7 separate regions of the Homo sapiens genome follow, and regions 2, 3, 4, 5, 6 and 7 are each linked to region 1. Evidence: promoter capture Hi-C in 16 types of primary human blood cells and fetal thymus (Javierre and others, 2016). All regions are on one chromosome and are shown on one strand. Each heading gives the region's core, a stretch centred on a gene start or on the middle of the fragment in contact. The rest is flanking DNA. Distances are from core to core; before and after follow the strand shown. Region 1 holds the start of KATNAL1 (katanin catalytic subunit A1 like 1). Region 2 has its middle 17 kb from the start of ALOX5AP. Region 3 has its middle 7.3 kb from the start of TRN-GTT2-4. Region 4 overlaps USPL1 (ubiquitin specific peptidase like 1). Region 5 overlaps USPL1 (ubiquitin specific peptidase like 1). Region 6 overlaps USPL1 (ubiquitin specific peptidase like 1). Region 7 has its middle 18 kb from the start of USPL1.

Evidence for each region. Contacts are between HindIII fragments. The CHiCAGO score rates a contact against its expected background, and 5 or more counts as called.
Region 2: a fragment that was not itself captured here is called in contact with the fragment with the promoter of KATNAL1 in region 1 in 2 of 17 cell types (naive B cells and total B cells); the score reaches 5.6 in naive B cells.
Region 3: a contact is called between a fragment that was not itself captured here and the fragment with the promoter of KATNAL1 in region 1, in 4 of 17 cell types (total B cells, naive B cells, naive CD8 T cells and 1 more). The highest score is 10.5, in total B cells.
Region 4: a contact is called between a fragment that was not itself captured here and the fragment with the promoter of KATNAL1 in region 1, in 6 of 17 cell types (naive B cells, total B cells, neutrophils and 3 more). The highest score is 8.3, in naive B cells.
Region 5: a fragment that was not itself captured here is called in contact with the fragment with the promoter of KATNAL1 in region 1 in 3 of 17 cell types (naive B cells, total B cells and total CD4 T cells); the score reaches 8.4 in naive B cells.
Region 6: a fragment that was not itself captured here is called in contact with the fragment with the promoter of KATNAL1 in region 1 in 8 of 17 cell types (naive B cells, total B cells, fetal thymus and 5 more); the score reaches 11.8 in naive B cells.
Region 7: a contact is called between a fragment that was not itself captured here and the fragment with the promoter of KATNAL1 in region 1, in 8 of 17 cell types (naive B cells, total B cells, naive CD4 T cells and 5 more). The highest score is 9.1, in naive B cells.

The regions. Positions count from the first base shown.
Region 1 is chr13:30,305,707-30,309,054 of GRCh38, reverse strand. It overlaps KATNAL1 (katanin catalytic subunit A1 like 1), which reads left to right and starts at 1,504. Exons shown (of 11, transcript NM_032116.5): 1 at 1,504-1,724. RefSeq lists silencers at 1,500-1,729, 1,760-1,869. The HindIII fragment of the contact is 2,852 bases long and covers 814-3,348 here.
Region 2 is chr13:30,716,963-30,720,310 of GRCh38, reverse strand. It overlaps a transcript of ALOX5AP not described here. Among named protein-coding and RNA genes, the nearest start is that of ALOX5AP, 17 kb to the left of the region's middle. The HindIII fragment of the contact is 1,760 bases long and covers 758-2,517 here.
Region 3 is chr13:30,679,703-30,683,050 of GRCh38, reverse strand. No RefSeq gene overlaps it. Among named protein-coding and RNA genes, the nearest start is that of TRN-GTT2-4, 7.3 kb to the right of the region's middle. The HindIII fragment of the contact is 9,070 bases long and covers 1-3,348 here.
Region 4 is chr13:30,658,035-30,661,382 of GRCh38, reverse strand. USPL1 (ubiquitin specific peptidase like 1) reads right to left here. Exons shown (of 9, transcript NM_005800.5): 9 at 617-3,348. The coding sequence ends at 2,027. Among named protein-coding and RNA genes, the nearest start is that of TRN-GTT2-4, 14 kb to the left of the region's middle. RefSeq lists enhancers at 1,462-1,581, 1,322-2,081. The HindIII fragment of the contact is 3,262 bases long and covers 117-3,348 here.
Region 5 is chr13:30,639,131-30,642,478 of GRCh38, reverse strand. All of the region lies in intron 5 of USPL1 (ubiquitin specific peptidase like 1), which reads right to left. Among named protein-coding and RNA genes, the nearest start is that of USPL1, 23 kb to the right of the region's middle. The HindIII fragment of the contact is 4,705 bases long and covers 1-3,348 here.
Region 6 is chr13:30,622,097-30,625,444 of GRCh38, reverse strand. The region is part of intron 3 of USPL1 (ubiquitin specific peptidase like 1); the gene reads right to left. Among named protein-coding and RNA genes, the nearest start is that of USPL1, 5.9 kb to the right of the region's middle. The HindIII fragment of the contact is 521 bases long and covers 1,575-2,095 here.
Region 7 is chr13:30,598,086-30,601,433 of GRCh38, reverse strand. It overlaps a transcript of HMGB1 not described here. Among named protein-coding and RNA genes, the nearest start is that of USPL1, 18 kb to the left of the region's middle. The HindIII fragment of the contact is 2,035 bases long and covers 826-2,860 here.

The DNA of each region.
Region 1 (3,348 bases), core at 255-2,754:
AGGTGGATAAAAATATCATGGGAGGAACTGAAGGACTTTTAAGAGCAGGGATTTCTAATTTTAGGTTTTTTGCATCCTTAATTTAAAACCACTTATCTGCTCCAAACCTTCTAAAGAGTTGGCTATAGAAACAACCAAAGAAAAGGGGCTGATTTCGAAATTATGTGTCAGCAGGAGTAGAGAGAGGAGAGTTGTAAGAGGTGATATGTGGAGAGGTCTAAGTGTTCAGGAAAAGCAAGAACTGAGAGCCAGAAGTGACGGTGCAATCCTTGAGAGGACATTGGCCGTGGGGAACACCACAAGGTGGATAAGGGACTCAGTCAAGTTCAAGAAAATCTCTGTGGTAGGATGACTCAGCTGGATTACAGGAGCCATTTTTGTTATTTTCAACCATAATTTTTCAGGAGATATTCATTACTAGAAAATGACAAGGTCACGAATTCACTCCCCTTCCTCTTTTTTTCTATTAAATTTCTGGGCCTCAGTTTTCCCATCTATAAAATCTAGAGATTGGGCCTAGAATATCTCTGTAGTTTCCATTAGAGTCTATAGCTCTAATAATAATAACAACACATTTTTATGTTCTCTTTTGAGGTAAATTTACATGCAGTGAAATGTACAAATCTTAAATGTCCCATTCCAAGAGTTTTGACAAGTGCATATACTTCTGTAACCGAAACTCTTAGCTATAGAATTTTTTCATCACTACAAAAAATTCTCTCAAACTCCTCCCCGACAGCCAACCACTATTCTGACTTTTATCACTATTGATTAAATAATTAATATTTAATAGCTATTGTTAAATGCTAAGCTTTGTTTTATAGAGCTTCATCAGTATTAATGCGTGTATTTCTTACAAGAGTTGCAAGATGGATATCTCCATTTTTGCAGATCAAAACGTTAAGAGGTGAGAAAGGCGCCTCTGGTCATCAGCTACCAAGCACAGGGGCAGGACGTGAACTAAGAATTCGTTTTAGAAGCCCACGCTCTTAACCTGTTTATCCTAGAGTCCACAAACGATTGCCAAGAAACAGCATAAATCCAAATTCAGTCGAAAGCAATGCCATTTGCAAATTCTAAAACCTCCTGAATAATCCTAAAGGCCATATGCATTCCATCTTATCGAAGGATTCCCTTCTATCCCCCTCCCCAGAGAATGGAGAAAGGGGGTGCGAAAGACTTCAATTCGGTTTGACTGGAGAAAAACACAGAGGTGGCGTAGGATCCACACATCCCTTGGGGGCAGACCCAGCGGCGGACGCCTGGACAGGCGGCGGGAAAGGCGCTGCGACGCCCCGGGTGCCCCCTCCTTCGACGCCACTGGCATCACCTCCGAAAGCAGCAGGCACGAAGGTGCCCTGCCACGGGGGCTGGACGCAGTGGAGGCAGGCTCATCAAGCACGACCAGAGCTCAGTCGGCCACACGTCCTCCTCAATGTCACTGTCTCCCTGCTCTCCCACCCCGCGCCGCTGCACCTCCCTCCCCCCGGCAACCTGGGCGGGAGTCCCAAGCTCCGCCCCAGAGCGGACTCACAGCCCCCGCGCTCCCTCCCGCGCTGCGCCCACCGCGCGGCCGCGGCTGCCATGGCAACACTACGCCGCCGCCGCCTTTTCACGCACGTCGCGAGCTAACGGACTCGGCGGCGGCGGCGGCGGCGGCCTGCGCCCCACCCGCACCCCATCTGGACCGCATCGCTGAATGTGCCCGGACCTGCGCCTTCTGGGTAATGAATCCGAGAGAAAGGGGCGAGGGCGAGACAGCAGGTGGTGGAGGGCTCTAGCCAACAGCCCCTCTCGGCCTCCCACTGCCGGAGACGCCAGGGCAGTGGGCTGCGGGGTTCCTCGGGCGCTGGCTCCCGTGCGGGGACGGGGAGGGGCGCGGGAGCGCCAGGCTCGCGGTGCATCATGGGAATTGTAGTTCAGCGACTCCTCGGGCTCGCGGTCTTGGTGGGGTAGCTCGGACTGGCGAACTACAAAGCCCGGCGGCCCCGACCGCCGGGAAAGACCGATAAACTTTGAGCGGACCGGGACAGAAAAAAAAATCTCTCTTTGTCTTGAGGGGGCTGTTGAGTGGTCGCGGACCTGGGCTCTGTGCGTTGGGAAAGGGAAGTGGAGGTGAGCCTCGGGCTTCCCGCCCTGTAGCTGGGCCCGCCCCAGTTGCAGCGCTCAGCCCCACCCCGGCTGGGCCACCGCCCTGCACAGTCTCAGGGATGAGCAGCCGCCCAAGCTGCAGGGCCTCGGGTCTTCGGCGCCTCTGACCCTCGCAGGTTGCTGCCTTTCGGTGCAGAACCGTATGTATGTCACACATTGGATGTGAGACCTGAGAAACCGTGTTTTAACAGGTTTTTCTCCTTTCCTGGATACGTTTATTTCTGGGTTAGTCATGTTTGTTTTAAAGTAGCTCAGAGGTGTTTGCATATTAAACCCATCAATTGGTAATTACTCAAAGGGCAGTAATGTTTAAAGGTTAAGTGTGGAAATAGATAAAAAGATGTCATTGCGATTATATGGTGGTATCTGGCATTTTTAACTTTTTGCATTTTTGAATTTTATTTCTTGAGGTTCAAGGTTGTGAAATGAGTGCTCCACCCCACCCCCCCCTTGCCAGCCTGAACACTGCCTACACATATTTTGATTAGTTCAGCTTTAAATTACTAGTAACTTTTAAAAACAGACTTTTTTAGCAGTAGGCAGCAATAATTCTTTGATTATTCCAGTGTTATTCAGAATTTCTCAGCATGTTTTCGGAAGGAAAAATACCATGTTTTAATTATTTAGTTAATTCTTTATATATTTTTTATGTTCAGGAGTACACTTGAGTCCTTAGAGTTGACTCAAAGACTTGCTGGTAAAGGAAGCTGACACAGATTTACGAAACCTTCCTTGACGACCCTTTAAAATTTTTTAATAGGTAGATAACCATCCTAGAAATTTGCTGCTTTATGGAGTAAGTTGGAGAATTGTTGATATTATTGTGAGTTTGTGTGTGTGTGTGTTTAAAAACAAAAAGACCACAAATCCTATAAAACTTTCTCTTAATTAAAATGAAGTTGACCTGTGTAAATTTTACTTGAGGTTGCAATTTTGTACAAGGAGGAGATGGAAAGTAGGTTTAGTAAGACAGGTAGAAAACAAAATTGAGGCCTTATGTGATACAACATAAGGTTTGAAGTATTTTATTTATTCATTCAAAATGTGTTAGGAACCTATGTGCCAGGCATTATGCCAGGTGGTGAGAATAAAGAGATGAAAAAAGATAGTCTGTATCCTGCATGGGCAGTCTTGTCATCACAGTAGTGTGGTAGAGATAAGTGCAAGTTGCTCTAGGAGCCCAGAGGAAATAATCAC
Region 2 (3,348 bases), core at 388-2,887, 410 kb before region 1:
AGCTTGTTGAGAACCACTTAAAGATCTTTCTAGGTAGCCAGAGGGTTTAAGTAATCCATAGCATCCGACAGCGTATCATATTAGAAAATTAGAAAAAAATGCCAATCACATTTTCCAAATGCAAAAGCACATTTAAAAATTATCCTCTAGAGGCCGGGCGCGGTGGCTCACGCCTGTAATCCCAGCACTTTGGGAGGCCGAGGTGGGCGGATCATGAGGTCAAGAGATCAAGACCACCCTGGCCAACAAGGGGAAACCCCGTCTCTACTAAAAATACGAAAATTATCTGGGCGTGGTGGCATGTGCCTGTAGTCCCAGCTACTTGGGAGGCTGAGGCAGGAGAATTGCTTGAACCCAGGAGGCGGAGGTTGCAGTGAGCCGAGATCACGCCACTGCACTCCAGCCTAGTGACAGAGCAAGACTCCATCTCAAAGAAAAAAAAAAATTATCCTCTGGGAAAAAAAAAAGGGAACAGAGCATTTGAACTACAGTCCTACTGTTCTCAGGCTGTGATTGAATTACAATCACGAATTAGAACTGACATGAGTTTTTCAGCGGAATATCCTGACCAGTCGCCTCACTCACTTGGAACTTGTCCATCGTCTCACTTCTCTAGAAGAAGCCAACAACCTATGACATAGCAAAAGATGACCCTGGACAATCAAAATAGATTAAACAGAGAATAGTCACTAAACAGTATTGACTCTTGGAAATGCCCTAACCAACCTGGTTATTTTATGAAGGATTGTAACAAGCTTAGTTCTCTGAAATCTATACCTAGAGCAGATAATAAGCAAGAAAGTAAGGAGAAATGAGGAGAAAGATACAGAAATATTTGTTGAATGCAGCTAAATGCAAGCAGCCTTACACATATTATTTAATCTTTATGACATCCCTTTGAAGCGGTATGATTATCCCGGTCCTCAGATGAGGTTACTGAGACAGAGAGAGGTCACGCCCTGTGAGTGCACCATGTGCATGCAATGAAGCTGAAATCCTAGCCTAGAGAGTCATCATTACATGACCAACAATTACTAACTTTTATGGAATGTTTTCTAGGTATACCAGATACAGCACTTTATGTCTATTATAACTCTTAATTCTTACAAAGGACTTTAAATCAACCTCCATTATTGTCACCATGCCATAGATGAGTGAATTGAGGCTTGGAAAGTGTAGGTCCCTTTCCCTTCATTGCACAACTAGCTGACAACTGAGACAGGACTCAGACCCGGTCAGTGTGATGCCTGAGTTCGTGGGATTTCACCACAGCCTGCACTGCGCTGACAGGCACGATGGCAACAGAAGTAGCAACTTGATGGCAGAACACAAAAAAATAAAGCTAGACAGGCCAAGACATCCAAAAGATGCTGCTGTCACTCAAGATGAAGGCAGTAGTTTGGATCAAGGGAAGACTGTAAGGCATGTGCCCACATTCTCTGTGAACTTGGGGGAGGGAGTGTCCAGGAGTTCAGTGGTCAGCTATGAGCATAGCAGGAGAGGGCTGTCATGACCTCAAAGGTCAAGGTTTTACAGGAGGCCTGGGAGCTGCATTGGGCAGCTAGGGCGACCCTGATCCCGGCTACTGATGTGACCTCAGCTTCCAGTGTAAACCCCATGTTTTGACACTGAGCTTTGTGGAATGAAGAGAATAAAAGGCCTTTTTTGAGAAGGTGGCAGGGATGGCAGGTTCCAGAGAAAGTAATAGGTGAGAGGAACTTTCAGAGAAGAGGCTGAAGCCACACGAGAGTTTGCAGTTCATGGTGTGAGCATTCCAAAGGGCACAGTGGATGGGTATGCAATGGAGAAAAGGATGGAGGAAGGGGGCAAGGGTGGGTCAGAGACATGGAGAGAAGAACTGAGCAATAAGGCAGTGTGTAGTTGTGGAGTTATTATAGATATGCATATATATATATATATATATATATGCATATCTGTGATAGGTTTTCATCCACAGTTCCTGGCTCATAACTCCCATAGCCCTTACTACAGTCTTGTTATAATGTTGAGTGTGTTAGACCTCAGAGGCAGGCCTCAAAAACAGAATCTTTTGGCCAGATGCAGTGGCTCACACCTGTGATCCCAGCACTTTGGGAGGCTGAGGCAAGTGGATCACCTGAGGTCAGGAGTTTGAGACCAGCCTGACCAACATGGAGAAACCCTGTCTCTATTAAAAATACAAAATTAGCCAGGCATGGTGGCACACGCCTGTAATCCCAGCTACTCGGGAGGCTGAGGCAGGAGAATCGCTTAAACCTGGGAGGCGGAGGTTGCAGTGAGCTGAGATTGTGCCATTGCACTCCACCCTGGGCAACAAGAGTGAAACTCCGTCTCAAAAAAAAAAAGAAAAAATAAACAGAATTTTTCTCACCTACTCCCCCTACCCCTTTCACCTGCCCGTCAAGGCAGGACTCTAATCTTGACCCCACCCCACCTTTCTGACTGTGGGTCTTAAAACCCTCCCCAGAGAAGGTCTTGCCCTATACTCTGGGGAAAGAATGTGGGTGTCTTGAAGCTTCCATAAAAACCCAAGAGGACTGGGTTGGGGAGCTGAACATGTAGAGGCTGATAGGCAGGTGAAGGAGAACTCATTCATGTACTGAGAGGGTGGTGCACCCCCGCTCCACATGGACAGAAGCTCCTGCACTAGGGACCTTTCCACACCTCGCCCTATGCATCTCTTTATCTGCCTACTTTTATCCTTTAAAATGTCCTTCGCAATAAACTGGTAGCTGTGTTTCCCTGAGTTCTGTGAGCCACTCTAGCAAATCAACCAAACCCAAAGAGCGGAGTGGTTGGAACCTCAACTTGAAGTGGATTGGTCAGAAGTTCCAAAGGCCAGCCCTCTGACTGGGAGAAGGAGGGTTTAGGCTTGAGGATCTGACACTATCTCCCAGTAGACAGCATCAGAATCAAATTGGAGGACACCAGCTAGTGTCCACTGCTTGGGGTTTTCCCCCACACCTTTGCTCGCAGAAGTCTTCTGCATTGATGATTGTTGTTATGCTGCTGTAAGTGAAGAGGAAAAACTCAATTTGGGAGTTTTTTCAAAAACAGTAATAAAGAATTTAACCCTGCCCAAAAAGAGGTCTGGCTTCTGCCCTCAGCTTCTGAGAGGTGATCTCTAAGGCTTTGGAACGTCCTGCCTGCTAGAGGTGTTTTCATTTGCCCGGGGACATTGGGTCATGGTGTGTGATTTAGAGCAGGGACTGTGAGTGATGTGTAGCGGTGGAGAGTCTGGGAACAGATCGGCCGCATGGGCAGTCAGCTGTGCTCATGTGACAGAGCCACAGTAAAGACCCTGGACACCAAGGCTTCCCTGGTGGGGAACACTCCCTGTGTGTTGTC
Region 3 (3,348 bases), core at 259-2,758, 370 kb before region 1:
AGGAGAATGGCGCGAACCAGGGAGGCGGAGCTTGCAGTGAGCTGAGATCGCACCACTGCACTCCAACCTGGGCGACAGAGCGAGACTCCGTCTCAAAAAAAAAAAAAAAAAAAAAGAGATTAAAACTGAGAACTTTAAAAAATATGTCTGTGTATGTATATTTCATTTTTTAATTATAATAATAAACCTATGACTGATAAACTCAAAAACATTTCTAGGAAAAATAACTTTATTTTCTAAAACAAAAATATTGTGAGGAGGATAGCATTGTTTTTTCATTTTTGCAAATCTCTTTCACGTCTGGTTTGATTGAAAAAACTAGGTTCTCATGTTTGCTTCTGCATTCAGTTAGGTTCATTATCACACACTCTGTCACCTGGAAAATGCCACTGTTCACGTGTGAGAAAGTGAGAGTGAAAAAAGACAGATAACATATTAGTATTATTATGACATTAATTTTAACCTTGAAGATCCCCTCAAAGGTCTCAGGGACAATCAGGGGTCCCTGGACCATGTTTTCAGAACAGCTACTTTAAAGAAAGTTTGGAAACATAAGGGCCCTTTCTGATTGTCCCATTTACGAGCAGGCAGAGGTGCCCAGGTGTCAGAATGACCTATTCAGCCCTAGATGGTTCTACACAGGAAAGAACTGCCCAGCCCCAAACAACAGGGTGCCCAGAGAGGAGGCTAGATTAGTTCCTGCGGTAGGTGATCTGGACTTTTGCATATTTGCCCAGCATAACTTTGTAAGAGCTTAATAAACTTTTTTACATTTGTTAAATGAAAATGGTGGAACCAAATTGCAGACGAGATGGCTCACCTAATAATGAATCCAAATCAGATAGCTTTCATCGTGCAGCATTTTAACTACCACAGATTGTGTAACAGAAATTATTGCATGTCCCAGGCAATGCCTAAGGAACTGCTGTTTGTAACACAAACAGTCTGGCAGCAGTTAATCACATGGCTTTCCTCATTTTCTGTTTTAAACTTCTGCTGGACCTATGACCAGTTATCTGTGTGAGATGGTAAGCCTTCGTGTTACTCACTACCCCATAGGAAGGAGCAGATCTGATGGGGTTTCCTGATTAGGGTACCAAAGGAACAGGCAGCACTCTGTATACCTTAGTGGACAATGTCTGAGATAAGCTGTGATAGGCTAGCATCCCTGCAATTTGGTTTTTAAAACCCTATAGTAAATCATAAATCTGACTCGGTGTGGAATCCGTGGAATTAACAGGGATGTCGGGATCTGATTCTAGCCTGGAAGCTCCTGCTTTCTGAGGGCCACACTGGAGGTGCCCTCAGAATTCAGAAGGGTAGATCCTCCCACCCAGCCTCCCTCACCAGCTCCCTGGAGGTAACCAGTAGCTTTTCTCCTGGCTGCCTTTTGATAGTGTTTGTCATCAATCAACTTTATTAGTTGTTTGCTTTTTTTGCATCCTGATTCACCTCCTCAAAACCTCGCCATTATCAAGTCTCTTTGTTGTTCAAAATGTTCAGTGCATCCTGTCGGCACATTGTATAAATATGCCATAGTTGTTTGTACATCATCCTTTGATGACTATCTAGGCCATGTAAAATTTTCTGCAATTATGAGCACCGTTCCTAATGCAGTTTCCAGCCTGGTATTCAAGAGCCTCCATGCTCTGTCACCTATTAGGTTTCTTTACATCAGGCTCCACCCTTTGTAATCCTCTGCTTCAGCTGTGCTCCTGTGTCTGTGCCCACCCATCCACACCTCTGTTCCTTCTCCTTGACAACACTAAAGGATCCTCTCACTTGTGGTCCCTGCTACTGGGGATGCTGAGGCAGGAGGATCTCTTGAGCCCAGGAGTTTGAAGCTGCAGTGAGCTATGATGGCACCACTGTACTCCAGCCTGGGTAAAAAAGCAAGACCCTGACTCTAAAAAAATAAAAATAAAAAAAAAAAAGGATCCTCTCCAGTGTCAGCTCAAGACCTGCTTACTCCATGGCTCTGTACTTACCAGTCCTGTGTGAGAGCGGCCCTCTCACTACACCCTGACTGCGTGTTAGTATTACCTTTCTTTCTCCTTTGCCATTTGGGGAAAGAAATTTTTTATTTCATTTAATTTTGATTTTTGTTGCTAGTGACACTAATGATTGTTCCTGACTCAAATTTGTAAAACGTTTACCATTGGTGCCATGCAGTGGCACTTACAGCCTTGAAACGTTTTTGTGTATATCCTGTTTCTGCAAGTGGATTAATAAAGTAGGCCGAGTGGGGTGGCTCAGGCCTGTAATCCCAGCATTTTGGGAGGCTGAGGTGGAAGGATCGCTTGAGGTCAGGAGTTTGAGACTAGCCTGGCCAACATGGCGAATCCCTGACTCCACTAAATATACAAAAATTAACGGGGTGTGGTGGCCTGCACCTGTAACCCCAGCTAGTCAGGAGGCTGAGGCAGGAGAATCGCTTGAGCCCGGGAGGTGGAGGTTGCAGTGAGCTGAGATTGTGCCACTGCACTCCAACCTGGGCGACAGAGTGAGACTCTGTCTCAAAAAATAAAATTAAATAAAATAAGTAAGTAAAAATTTTAAAATTAAAAATAATACAGTGACCTGCAGTCAGGAATGGCCTCTCGGAGAGTCTTAAATGGAAGGGAGATCCCTGAAGCATCTAGCCCAATTCAGTCAATATCTGCTGGCTGTCATTTAACACAAAATGTATTAAGTATTTGAAAGTATATTTTTTAAAATTTAAAAAGTCTTAATATTCTCCTGTAGATTGAGTTATCCCACCCAAATGAAAACAACTCATAAAAACGAAGAAAAAAAATCAGTGCAAAGAAATTTTTAAAAATATTTTAAAAGGGTAGAAGTTATCTCTAATCTCAGGTACTCCAATTCTTTTTAAATGAAAGCATCTTCATCACTGATGATTCACATCTTGTAAAATTCCCCACAGAAGTGTGCATGGTCCATAGACACCCTTTTCTCAGGTGAGTGAAAGAGTTGAGAAGAGAGACCAGCGTGACAGTTCCACTGTGTTTGGCAAAGCCCCCCGCCGGTGTCCCTACCCACACACAGGCACTCCTCTACCCCTAGACAGAGATCTGGCCAAGCATAACCACCTACCTCCCTCTATCTGTAATTTAGGGAAACTGCTGCTGCCTCTCAACCCTGGCCCCGCAAAAGACTGCTTGCAGCAAATGCTTGAGAACATACTGGAAAAGGAATAAAAATCACCTCCCAGAGATAACCACTAATAATATTTCATAGAACTTTCCAAATACTGCACATGTGCACACACACATCCCATATTGGGGCTCACACCGCATATACAACGTGAAACAAAACTGGAATATAATAATAGTATCTGCCACCTAG
Region 4 (3,348 bases), core at 498-2,997, 350 kb before region 1:
TAGTCACTAAGTATTAAAATGCATGGTCAAAAATCTTTTTTTTTGGTATTTTCCTAGTTTTTCCTTGACAATATGCACTACTTTTGTCAGAAAAAAAATAAAACAACACAGAAGCTTAGGAGTAAATCTGACAAATAGATTATGAAGTACTGAGTCCCTAGCAAATAATTTTACTGCAAGGACACTGGCTGCCAGCCTTAAACCTCAGTAAGTACTGCTGTTAACTCAAATCTCTACGGCAGTGGTGCTGTTTGGGCATCCTACTTTAAATGAAGCCTGAGGAGTGGAACATATATTGATAAGCTCAGCACTCAACTGCTGTAATAGCCACTCTACTCAATCTCAGCTCCACAACTGAATGAGTACAGTCTCCTTATCTGTAAGATGTGATAAAAGTATCTCACGCACAGGAATGTTGAGGTCTAAATGAAATAACATCTATCTCATATATCACAACCAACATCTAACAAGCCTCACAAGCACTGGTTATTACTCTCTCCCAAAACAGAACTGTTAGATGGTGTCCCACTTTGGTTACAGAAGTAAATGTCTTGGGAAGAAAGATGGTATTTGTGATAACATGTAAAGTTTGTACATCATCACAAAAACAGGTAACTTTTTTCTGCTATCATTTATTTATAGATTTATTGATCACTTAACATTACTAAAGTTCAAGTAACAAGGTTTCTTGCCCTCCTCTGTATGGAGAGATAAAGGAGATAAGTGACATAGGGAAAGTTTACATTCCACAGCACTCTACCGGTGTAACAAACAGGCGTAGGCTCTTACAGAAGGCCACACAACCATAAGGAAAACTGTCACACATTCATATACCGTATACAACTTAAATCTGCATAAACTCTTGAACTAATGATGGTGGCAGGTGCTCCAGTCAGCCTGCTATCATTCCGGCTGCAGCCTTGGAGCAGGCAAGATCTCCACCCTCCTGGGTGCGGGTGCAGACTCAGGCATCCCTGCACTTTTGGGGGCCTGCTTTTGCAGGCTCGGAAGTGCTTGCCTCTGCAGCTTGGCTTCTCCCTGCTATTGGCACCAGCTCTCAGATCAAAGCAGGGGGGTAAGCCTGGAAGCCATGAACAGGGAGGGCCTGAAGGCTGAGGGCCAGGCTGCCAGTCCCACCTGTAGGAGTGGGAACTGGTGCCTTTTCCAGGCCAGTAAGTATGCACTTCCTCCCCCGAGGCCCGTAAAATGCCCCAGGCTCAGCCAGAACTGAGCAGAGGGTGGGACGACCAGCAACAGGGAGGAGCTACCCTCTCTGCTAAGAGCTTCAGAGACCTGTAGAGACGGCAGAACAACCTGCCTATGGATAGAAGCTATCCTCTCCAGGGCCCCGTCTGAGAGCAGCAGGACCTCTGGACAATCTGCCTGCGAACAGAAGCTACCTTCTCCAGGGCTGCTTCTCTGCTGAGAGCTGAGAGGAGTCACCCTCTCCAGGGCCTTTTCTCTGCTGAGAGCTGAACACTTGAGGGACGACCTGCCCGCCGACACAGGGGAGCTGCTCACTGTGGGTCTCCTTCTGAGCTGTTCTAACACTAAATAAAGCTCCTCTTCTTCTTCTTCACCCTTCATTTGTCTGCATATCTGGACACAGGACAAGAACTCGGGCACCGTGGGCAAAGCGCCACGAGCAACAGGTTTCCAGGGGAAGAAAACCACCACAAAGATCACTCATAACACTAACATAACCAAAACTTCAAATCTAAAAATGTAATGCATCCAACTGTACAAACTGTCAGAAACTAGACGCCACTTTTCATCTTTAACATTTTGAAATCCTCATACTCTCACAAGAACAAAATGAAACCAAAAAGGAGAACACATTCAGTGATTTTAATGTGTAAGAAAGATTACATGCTTCATGGGCAGAACCAAAGGTTAAACCTTGCATTTTGTTCATGGTTATTACACAAGTAATTACACAAGTCCAGTGTATAAACACTACCTGAACACATTGTAAGTTCTTCTAATAATAATAAATATTATATGAAAAAAGTTAACAAGCATTAATTCAATAATTCTCAAACAGATATTCATCGAAATGAGGTAGGTCTAATGTGTCATTTGCTAAAGCATTTAATGCTGAGGAGGAAAAAAACTCATCGAAAATATCAGTCTTCATCGGACTCTCCAAGTTTAATGTTCTAACGCAGGCATTATTTGTCAGAGAGTCTGGCTGAACTTCACATGGATTTTTCTTGGTGGGGCTACAATAATTATGGTCCTGTCTCAGATGTGTGTTCTGGGAAACATCATTGAATTCACTTGGTACTGGTGGTGGGATATGACTATCTCCCATTCCCAAATACCTAAAGTCACCTTCCCCATTTTCTGACAGCTCTGTTGAAACAGGTGTAGGAGACAATAATTCCGCTAAAATTTCTTCATGAGTTTGACTACTGTACAGGGAAACACCAGGAACAGTGGTGCATGCAGACTCACTGGCAATATCAATTGGATATGGTAGCTCATTTAACAAGTCCTCTATTGATTCACAATCATTTGGAGACCCATCCTGGGGCACCTGTTCTAGATTTTCACTTCGAACTGTTCTGCTTTGCGGGGAAGACATAAGAGCAGCTAATTTCTTCTTTTCTGCCTTTAGCTTTTTACGAAGTTTTAGACGAAGTTTATGAATCTGACCTTCCACCAAGTCTTCATGGTTTGCTGAAGAAATACCATTCCCATAAGAACTGTGGTTGAGTTGAGCTCCACATGAGGTGCTTCCAGACTTTTCCAAAACTTCTGAAGCAGCATGAGCATGTGGGTGGGCAGCTGTGCCATTAGACGATGGAGGGCCTGCTGGTGGCTTACTGATGGGAGGAGGCTTACTTGCACTCTTACGAGCTTTCTTGGATACGTGGCTGGCCTTCTGGTTTATACCTTTAGTTTTAAAGCCACCAAAATTATTTACCCCTTTAACTGAAGGTTGTAAATCAGTTATAGTGTTTCTATTATGAGCTGAAACACAGAGTGGCATAAAAGAAGCACCCCTGCTTATTAAGCCTTTAACCCAACTTCCCACAAATGGCTTCTTCTGATTTTCTTTCAGAGACTGATTCTGTAATGACTTAGATGTTGTGGTTTGAGAATCTGCTGTAGTTTCTTTTTTCTTCAAATTAGATACCTGAGATGTGACACGTTCTGGTTTTAATTGTTCAGTTTTTGGTGTAAGGAATTGTTTTAACTGAGCGTCCTTCTCAATTTCTACTGACTTCACTCCCTGTATAAGACCAGTAGCATCAGTATTATTCACAGATTTAGTATTTACAGTATCTTCTGTATTCAGCTGTACTGACTGCATGTTTGTATTTACAACTTGGGATGGAAAAC
Region 5 (3,348 bases), core at 441-2,940, 330 kb before region 1:
GGGGAAGTTTATAAAGCATTTTTCTAAAAATGTCCATCCTAAAGATTTAATTACCACTTTGATCTCTTTCCTTTTCCTTGGCAGACATTTATGAAAATTTCTTAGGACAAAAAATCCACAAAAGACCCATACTGTCTTCCATCTTTCTAGATTTCTCAGGAAAAAAAAAAAGATCTCGGAACTATGATAAGCCTTAGAGTATATTAAAACAAAAATTGATGAGGTGTGGTGGCTCACACCTTGTAATCCCAGCACACTGGGAGGCCAAGGCAGGAAGACTGCTTGCGTTACCTCTGAGAATTGCTGCCAGCCTCTAGGAACCTAAAACCAGTTTCTATGAACGTTTGAGACCATCCTGGCCAATATAGCGAGGCATTATCTCTACAAAAAATAAAATGAAATAAATTAGCTGAGAGTGGTGCTACACACCTGTAGTCCAAGCTACTTAGGAGGCTAAGGCAGGAGGCTCATTTGAGCCCAGGAATTTGAGGCTGCAGTGAGCTATGATCATGCCGCTGCATACCAGCCTGGGTGACAGAGCGAGACCTCGTCTCTAAAAAAAAAAAAAAAAATTATGGAAATGGTTTGCTACAGATGTTAAAAAATGTAATCAGTGAAACACTGTAGAAACACATCAGAATTGGCCATTTCTATTCTGATCATCTTGTTCCACCTGTGGAGAGGGCGTGGCCACACAATGGTTAAATGACCAGCCTCAACTCTTTGGACTCTTCATCTACCGTTCTTCTTAACTTTTCAGTCTAATCCTTTCCTTTAACAACTTTACAACTGAAGATTTGAATCTTGTTGTCATTGAAAATAACTGAACAGTGAATGCTGGCTTCCAGCTTTGAGACTGGAAAGTAAGGTAAGCAGGAGAATCTACATGTTTCCCATTCTTTTTCCAATTGGTTGCTCTCCTTCCTATTCTCAGAGGAGCTTAGATGCTGCCTTACCGATTTGGCCCAAGAGACTGAGTCCTTCCATCCCTTCCCCTACCCTGCACAGAGCCTCACTTCCATGGTCCAGTTCTCCCCCTAGCCTGGAACTACAGTTGCCTGGAACATGGCCAGGAACAGTCACCTTCCATCCCTTCCCCTACCCTGGACAGAGCCTCACTTCCATGGTCCAGTTCTCCCCCTAGCCTGGAACTACAGTTGCCTGGAACATGGCCAGGAACAGTCACCTTGGCAGGACCACAAGGTAGACAGTAGGTGTTATTACCTAAGCAATAACAATCATGTGGGGTTTCTAAAAATTACTGATTTCCTGAGCCCCTTCCCTGAGATCCTAATTCAAATGTCCCTATGATTGGTATTTACTTTTAAATTCCCTCGGTGCTTTTTAATGCACAATTGAGGTTAAAAATGCTAGATCTGTCTACTGGGAAAAGTACTAGAGAAGCAACTAACAATATGTCCCCTAAATATTCTCCCGGTTCTGAGAACTGCACCCACTCTCAAGAGGTGGAACACCAGCCTACATATTTATATGGAACAGCTCTGCCCTACAATAACTTACCCAGTGGTAGATTCCTAAGTCAAACTACTCAGATTCTCTCTCCCAAGAATATGATCATCCAAGGTAATCAAACAGTATTATATTTCCTTATGATGTACATATTTCTACATGGTAGATGAGTATAATACAAGCGAGTTATACCCTAACCCTAAGCATATTCTATAAATATCAGTAGTTACAAAGGCTATTTTAGTAGTCACCTTTGCGGGATAGTCTCACTGCTACTTTTGAACAAAAACATTAAAAAAAGTTTTTTTGTTTCTTTTTGAGAAGGAGTTTCGCACTTGTTGCTCAGGTTGGAGTGCAATGGCGCAATCTCTGCTCGCTGCAACCACTGCCTCCTGGTTTCAAGCAATTTTCCTGCCTCAGCCTCCCGAGTAGCTGGGATTACAGGCACCTACACCACGTCCGGCTAATTTTTTGTATTTTTAGTAGAGACAGGGTTTCACCATGTTGGCCAGGCTGATCTTGAACTCCTGACCTCAGGTGATCCACCCGCCTCGGCCTCCCAAAGTGCTGGGATTACAGGTGTGAGCCACCGGGCCCAGCCATAAAATAAGTTTTAAAAAGTTTTTTTGTAAGTAGAAATACAAATCAATATCCTAGAAATGAAAATATGCAACACTGTATGCATAAACAGTATGTCATATAGCACAATTTTGTAATTCATTATCAGCCTTTAAATCCGTATTCTATTGTAACTATATATTAACTGAAAAAGCAAACAATTTACATTTCATAATGACAATATAAAATCTTCAGGTCTAAAATACATAAAGTTCTCCATGAATTAAAATATTATGAAAGAGCTCAAAACACATCTTTAAATAAGTTATATGATTACAGAGCATTTCATTAGTAAGATCTTCAGCTAAAATATAGCACCTATCCTTGAATGGGCAGTAAAACAAGAGAGGAATCCTCCTGCACTGAAAAGAGCTGTATGCTTGCCCAATTATTATGATTACACAAAACAATAATTTAAAAATTCCTTCTGTTACATAGAAAACCAGGCCCATGGCGGAGGTGGAGCAAAAGATGTAACTTTGTTCCAAAAATAATTATCAGGGATAAGAAGGGTAGTGACTCAGGCTGGGGGAGAAACCATTCTTTAATTCAACTGGGAACTGAAGTAGGGAGTCTAGAAGGGAAATGGTATCTGCTAAATGCACCACGAAAGCCCTTCCATCTAAACTCTAGGGATCTTACGGAAAAAGCTCCTTTGAAATGAGTATTCGCTCAACAGATCAGTGGCTGGGGGTGATGAACCTGGTGAGAAGTTTTAGAGTGACAGAGTCCTATATCTTGATTGTAGTGAGGGTTACAGAGCTGTACACACTTAAAAACGGTCTTACTATATGTAAATTACACCTTGATATAAAGAAAAAAGAATATTCATTCCATCTGAGGGCCTATCTGATGCATAAATTACAACAGTTCTTCAGGCCTAGAGGAGGAAATGTCAGAAATTTGGCATACGAAAAATCAGACTTTTATAAGAACAGAATAAATATGTATGTATAAGTCCATGAAAAATAAAGCAGATATACAACTATTATATATTAATTTTAATAAAATGTAGGAAAAAAAGTGAAAATTAGGGGGCAGAAGCATGAGTCAAAGAAGTACGTCAAAAGCTGTCCAGCATGTACAAAAGATGCCATGCTTCCCGATATATATATATACACACGCACATACACACACATACACACATATATATATATATATATATATACATTTTTTGAGACGGAGTCTCGCTCTGTCCCCAGGCTGGAATGCAATGGCGTGATCTCAGCTCACTGCAACCTCTGTCTCCCAAGTTCAAGC
Region 6 (3,348 bases), core at 586-3,085, 320 kb before region 1:
CAAAAAACAAAAAACCAACTAAAAATCTATGTAGTACATCTAACTTTAATAGCCAAAAACCTAACTCCTGGGGACAAGGACTTCTCTATTCTTACAGTCCTGATCTTCTCCCCAAAACCTTGCTCTTCCAAGTCTTCCCAGCTCAGTAATTCACGATTCCATTCTTCTAATTTTTCAAGCCAAAAATCTTGGAACTATCCTTGATTCCTCTTTCCAACCCCATATCCCAATCTTTCAGCAAATCCTGTTGGCTTTACCTTCAAAGTATAAATAAACTCCAACCATGCCTCAACACCTCTGCCACCACCCTCTCCCCCAGAATACTGCAACTGCCTTCAACTAGTCCAAAGGGAAAAAAGCTTTTTTTCCTTTCTACTTATCAATCTAAATAAAAAGAAAAGAGAAGCTTCTAAAAAGAAAGTGACATTTATTCAGGAATAAAGTATTCCAATGGGAATACACATGCCATAGTAAACTGTGTGTGTTCAGGGAGGTAAGGGAAGACAAAAGGTTTTTAAAGGAAAATAAGGAGGATCACATACTTGTTTTGAGATAATTACCCTTGGCTACAAGGATCAATAACAAGGATGACACCCGTCCACAGATGGACCAGGCAGTTGCTGGGCAGATGTCCTTGCAGAAGTATTTTCTGTGTATTTATTTCATGATGTATTTTCTGTGTATTTCAGAAGTATTTCATGATGGCCTTTGTGCAAGGGTGTGGTTTTTGCAGAGTCTTTTGAGATATTTTGGTATTTATGCATGAAAGCTCTCTCTTCATAGCCTTTCCTGGATCTATTTGTCTTTTTTTTTTCTTTTAATAGAGACAGGGTCTCACACTCTGTCATCCTGACTGGAATGCAGTGGCACAATCACAGCTCACTGCAGCCTGGACCTCCTGGGCATGGTGCCGTGCACCCGTAGTCCCCCTCCCGGGTAGCTGGGGCTACAGACTCACACCACCATGCCCAGCTAATTTAAATTTTTTTTTTTGTAGAGACAAGGCCACACTATGTTGCATGGGCTGGTCTCCAATTCCTGGGATCAAGCAATCCTCCTGCCTCAGCCTCCCAAAGTGTTGGGATTACAGTTGTCAGCCACTGTGCCTGGCCAGTCAGGATTTTTTTTTCTTTTTTAACACAAGTGACTCCATTTTGATTATGACAATTTTCACATATTCTATCCTCCCAGCACACTTTTGTGACCAGATGTGTGGGGGCTTTTTCCCCACACCAAGCAATTCTCCAGAGGACACCAAATGGGTATCCTATAATCCAATTCCATTTGGATGTTATCTACCTAGAGACCATGTCAGATCCTACAGGTTGAGGGCTCAGTCCCATGACTCCCTCCACTTCAGATGCCAATCCCACATCCAGGCCACCAGTACATCTGACTGACTGGCTACAAAGGTTCCCACTCCCCCTTCTTGGGCATAACTAGTTTGCAAGGACAGCTCGCAGAACTCAAACAAACACTTACTTATGTTTATTGGTTTATCCTAAAGGATATTATAAAGGGTATAGATGAAGAAATGAGTAGGGCAAGGTATGGGACAGAAGAGGTATGAAGCTTCCACTTCCTCTAAGCATACCACCTCCTACACGGCACCAGCCCCCAGCAACCCACTCATTAAATCCAAATCTTGATATTTTTATACAGCTTGATCTCCAGCCCCTCCACTCCTTTCCTGGAGGCCTGTACGTGGGGCTAAAAGTTCTAACCCGTTAATTCTCTAATCATGTGGTCTTTCCAGCTACTTGCCCCATCTGAGGCTATCTACGGCTCCATCCTAAGTCACCACAATAGTATGAACCCCGGTGTTAGCAAACAGGCTCATTCTGAATAACAGGACACTCTTATCATTCAGGAAATTCCAAGACTTTTAGCTCTGTAACGGAAACCATAGACAAGGACCAAATATAATTCATATTATACTATAACTAATCTCCCTGCTTCAGGTCTTGCCCATTACATATATTTTCAACAGTGCAGCCACAGTAATGCTTTTAACACTGAAGTCAACTTATGTCACTCCTCTGCCAACATCTCTGCCATGGTTCCTGGTTTCACCCATAGTAAAAGCCAGAAAGCTTACAATGGCTTATAAGACCCTACTTGGTCCAGCTCCCCCATTATTTTTCTGATCCACCTTCTATCGCTCTGCTGCTTTCATTGCAGTAGCACAAACATGACAGGCAGCCTCCATTCTCTCAGGGCCTTCCTGGAACTTGCTTCCCCTGCCTAGAAAGCTCACTGCTCTTCACCTCTTTCAGGCTTTTGCTCGAATTGCACTTTTCATTGAAGCGTTCCCCTCACCATCCTATTTAAAATTGCAAACTCCCCCTACTTTGGCATTCCAGTCCCTACTGCCTTATTTTTCTCCACAGCACTTTTTATCACCTGACAGAAAAACACATACTTGTTCACTGTCTTTCCCACTCTATGACATAACTTCCTTAAGGGCAAGAAATTTTTGTTTTATTATTGTATCCTAACATTGTATCTGCAACAGTGCCAAACAGTGACACTCATAAAAAAAATTACTGAATATAAACATAAAGAAATTTATATTTGTAGACACGCCTGGGATTACTTTACTTCAAATTATACCCAGCATAAGTATCTATTAACAACCATGTGATTTAGTCTAGTATTTTCCAAACCTGGCTGATGATGATCAGACTCATCCTCAAATGTTACAAAACCACAGAATTCTGGGCCAACTCTATTGAATCAGCATCTGGGGGTGATACTCAGAAATTTATTAAAAGCACTCCAGGTAATTCTGATGAACTGCTAATTTTTTGCTGGAATAAACAGATCTGAAATTAGAAGTCTGTATTCCAACCACAGCTCTGCCACTGTATCAGGATCTTATGTTCCCAAACCCTCTGAAATCAATTTATTTTCTTATTCATGAAATAGGAATACAAATCTTGCAAAGTTCTGAGAATTAAAAGTGTATGAGACAGTCTCATAAACTGTCAAATACAATAAAATGTGGAGTATTACAGAATTTAATGAGCTGCTATATAAAAGCCGTACCAGTCGGTACAAATTACTATAATTCTAAAAGCGATTTAGAGCTTCTAAAAGGATCTTTTAGAATTTACAAGATTCTATACTCTCTTTAGTTCAGAGTATATATACTGGTTTTGGACTAACCAATTTCCAAAATACTCTTCCAGGTACATTAGAAATTCATAACTTTTCCCATCAGTTGCAAAGATAAACCAAAGAGATGAGAGAGTAACTACTATATGCTAATAGCTAACAAGGACCTCCAAAAGGTTAAAAAAAAAGAAAAAAACCTTGAAATGTATTTTCTCCTCTCGCAAATCAAAT
Region 7 (3,348 bases), core at 594-3,093, 290 kb before region 1:
AAACTCCGTACTAGTAGTTTGACCACAGGCCCCCAACAGGTAAGACACAGAACCAGGTAGGGTTTCTTTCATGCGTGTCCATGTGAAGAGACACCAAACAGGCTTTGTGTGAGCAACATGGCTATTTATTTCACCTGGGTGCAGGCGGGCTGAGTCAGAAAAGAGAGTCAGCAAAGGGTGGTGGATTATCATTACTTCTTATAGGTTTTGGGATAGGTGGTGAAGTTAAGAGCAATGTTTTGCGGGCAGCGGTGGATCTCACAAATTACATTCTCAAGGGTGGGGAGAATTACAAAGAACCTTCTTAAGGGTGGGGGAAATTATAAAGAACCTTCTTAAGGGTGGCGGAGATTACAAAGTACATTGATCAGTGAGGGTGGGGCAGAAACAAATCACAGTGGTAGAATGTCATTAGTTAAGGTTATTTTTACTTCTTTTGTGGATCTTCAGTTACTTCAGGCCATCTGGATGTATACATGCAAGTCACAGGGGAAGTGATGGCTTGGCTTGGGATCAGAGGCCTGACAGTTTCAATCTCTCCTTTGCTATCAACAAGCTCTGAGATGTTCATTTATCTGAGCCTGTTTCTTCTTCTGTAAAATGGGATTAATACAACTTGAGTGTCCCTTGCCTGAAATGTTTGGGACCAGAAGTGTTTCAGATTTGGGTTTTTTCAGATTTTGAAATATTTGCATTATATTTAGCCAGTTGAGTATCCCTAATCACTTGAACCCAGGAGGCGGAGGTTGCAGTGAGTCAGGATTGCGCCATTGCACTCCAGCCTGGTCAACAAGAGCAAAACTCCGTCTCAGGAAAAAAAAAGCTTCAGATTTTTGGATTAGGAATACTCAACCTATACTATTATACAGAATAATTTTTAGGATTGAATTGAGATGATTTCTAAAATATCTAGCAGAATACTTGATTCCTAGCAGGTACTCAAAAATGTTAATTTCATCACGTTCTTCTTACTGTTCTCGGGTTGCTTTATTAGATGACGGAATGTTTTTATACCTGCTATTTGTCTTATTATCTTAAACAAAATTTGAATGACCTACACCAGAATTATTATTAAAGCAGACAGTGATCTAACATTCCAGTAGCGGAGCAGTAATAAAGAAAATTTCATACTGATGGAATTTATTTTAAGACTGTGATCTGAGCTGTTCTACCCTAAGGTGTTAGTGGCTGATGATCACTTAATAGATTGCTCTGCCAGAGATTATTTACATTTTCAGGGGAAATAAATTGCCAATGAAAGAATAGAAGAATTTTAGGTTTTGTGGCAAGCCAGTGAGGAAACTGTGATTAGGAAAGGGATCTTTCAGTGGTACTCTTTGTGGTCTATCTACCACCATAGATGAGTCCTGGCAAGGTATCGAGTAACTTACCACAGTTTGTATATAATTTATAGATTTGGGTTTCTATAGGAAAAATTGCCTTTAATAAATTCAGATCATCATGCTATATTATTTCATTTGGGTATGACATTTAGATGAGCACAGATGCAGTTACTATACTATAAATCTAACTGTAGTGTTGACAAATTAAGGTCTAGGCCTGTTACGGGCTGAATTGTGCCCCACCCCCAATTCATAGGTTGAAGCCCTAATCCCCTGGAACTCGGAATGTGACTGTATTTGGACACAGGGCCGTAAAAAGGTGATTAAGTTTAAATGAGGTCTTTATGGTGGACCCTAATCCAATATGACTAGTATCTTTATAAGAAGAGGAAATTTGGATACGTGGGGAGACACCAGAAACAGACAGAGGGACAGCTATGTGAGGACATTTCAAGAAAGCAGCCATCTGCAAGTTAAGGAGAGAGGCCTCAGAAACCAAACCAGCCAACAACTTTATCTTAGATTTCCAGCCTCCAGAACTGTGAGAAAATAAATTTCTGTTGGTCCAGCTACCCAGTCTGTAGTGTTATCAGGGTTTTTTTGTTTTTGTTTTTTTGTTTTTGAGACAGAGTTTTGCTCTTGTTGCCCAGGCTGGAGTACAATGGCCTGATCTCAGCTCATCACAACCTCCGCCTCCCAGGTTCAAGCGATTCTCCTGCCTCAGTCTCCCAAGTAGCTGGGATTACAGGCATGAGCCACCACACATGGCTAATTTTGTATTTTTAGTAGAGACGGGGTTTCTCCATGTTGGTCAGACTGGTCTCAAACTCCTGACCTCAGGTGATCCGCCCACCTTGGCCTCATAAAGTACTGGGATTACAGGCGTGAGCCGTTGTGCCCGGCCTGTAGTGTTACGTTACGACAGCCCATGCAAACTAACACAGGGCCCAGTACCAACCCTTACACATGGGTGTTTAATATTTGTTATTTTTTCAAAACTAAAACTGTTGGTTGCTACTTGGGAGGCTGAGGTGGAGGATTGCTTGAGCCCAGGAGTTCAAGTCCAGCCTGGGCAACATAGTGAGACCCCATTCCTTTAAAAAAATTATATATACACACACATACACACACAATATATTATATATGTATATACACATATATATGCATATGCATATATAATATATACATATACGTGTGTACATGTATATATATAAAAGATCTACACACAAACATAAAATAAATAATAAATTTTTGTTGTAGAAAAATCAGGGATGGATTATAGATGCTGTTTCTCATGAAGTAATCAAATTAAGTTTCACAACCCAGCATTTGAAATAGACCATTTTAAAAGAGTCGTCTTATCCTTTATTTTGCCACCAAGGCTGTAGCCCCTTTCCTTCCATTTCTCTGTCCTCTTCACCCCACCCTACACTATCTTGTCCTGTTCCAACATACATGCATATAGGCCAGCTATAGCTCACTTCCTATATTTTCAGGTGTATTTTGTCTAGCAAGCTTTAGTTATTTTTCCTAAGCAACAGGATTATCTTCCATGTTGTTTTTCTATTTCACTTTGTGAAAAATGAGGAGGCCAGTTGAAGAGGGAGAGAAGGCCTTAACATTTATTGAGCACTTATTTTATGCCAGGTACTGTTATTCACTTTACATAAAACATTTCCTTTAGTGAGAAAACAGCAGTGGCCACATTTAGAAAAATGAAAAGCAACAGTGACGATCTTGTAACATTGCTTTAAAATGAGTCTCTGGCCCTTGCCCTACTTTCTGTATATGTGCTTAGCTCTGCCATTATCAGATCTACTGTACCTGGTAGTTATGAAAAGTACATTAATTATTTAAATCTCTAGATGTAAGTCATTTTGTGAGATGACAAACAGCATAACCTTGGGGTATGTGTCTATTAGAATGGGTTTAGAAACAACACAGGGGTACTGGTGCTTCTGAGAGTATGTCATTGATAGTCACAAGTAATTTGCCGGTGCATGCC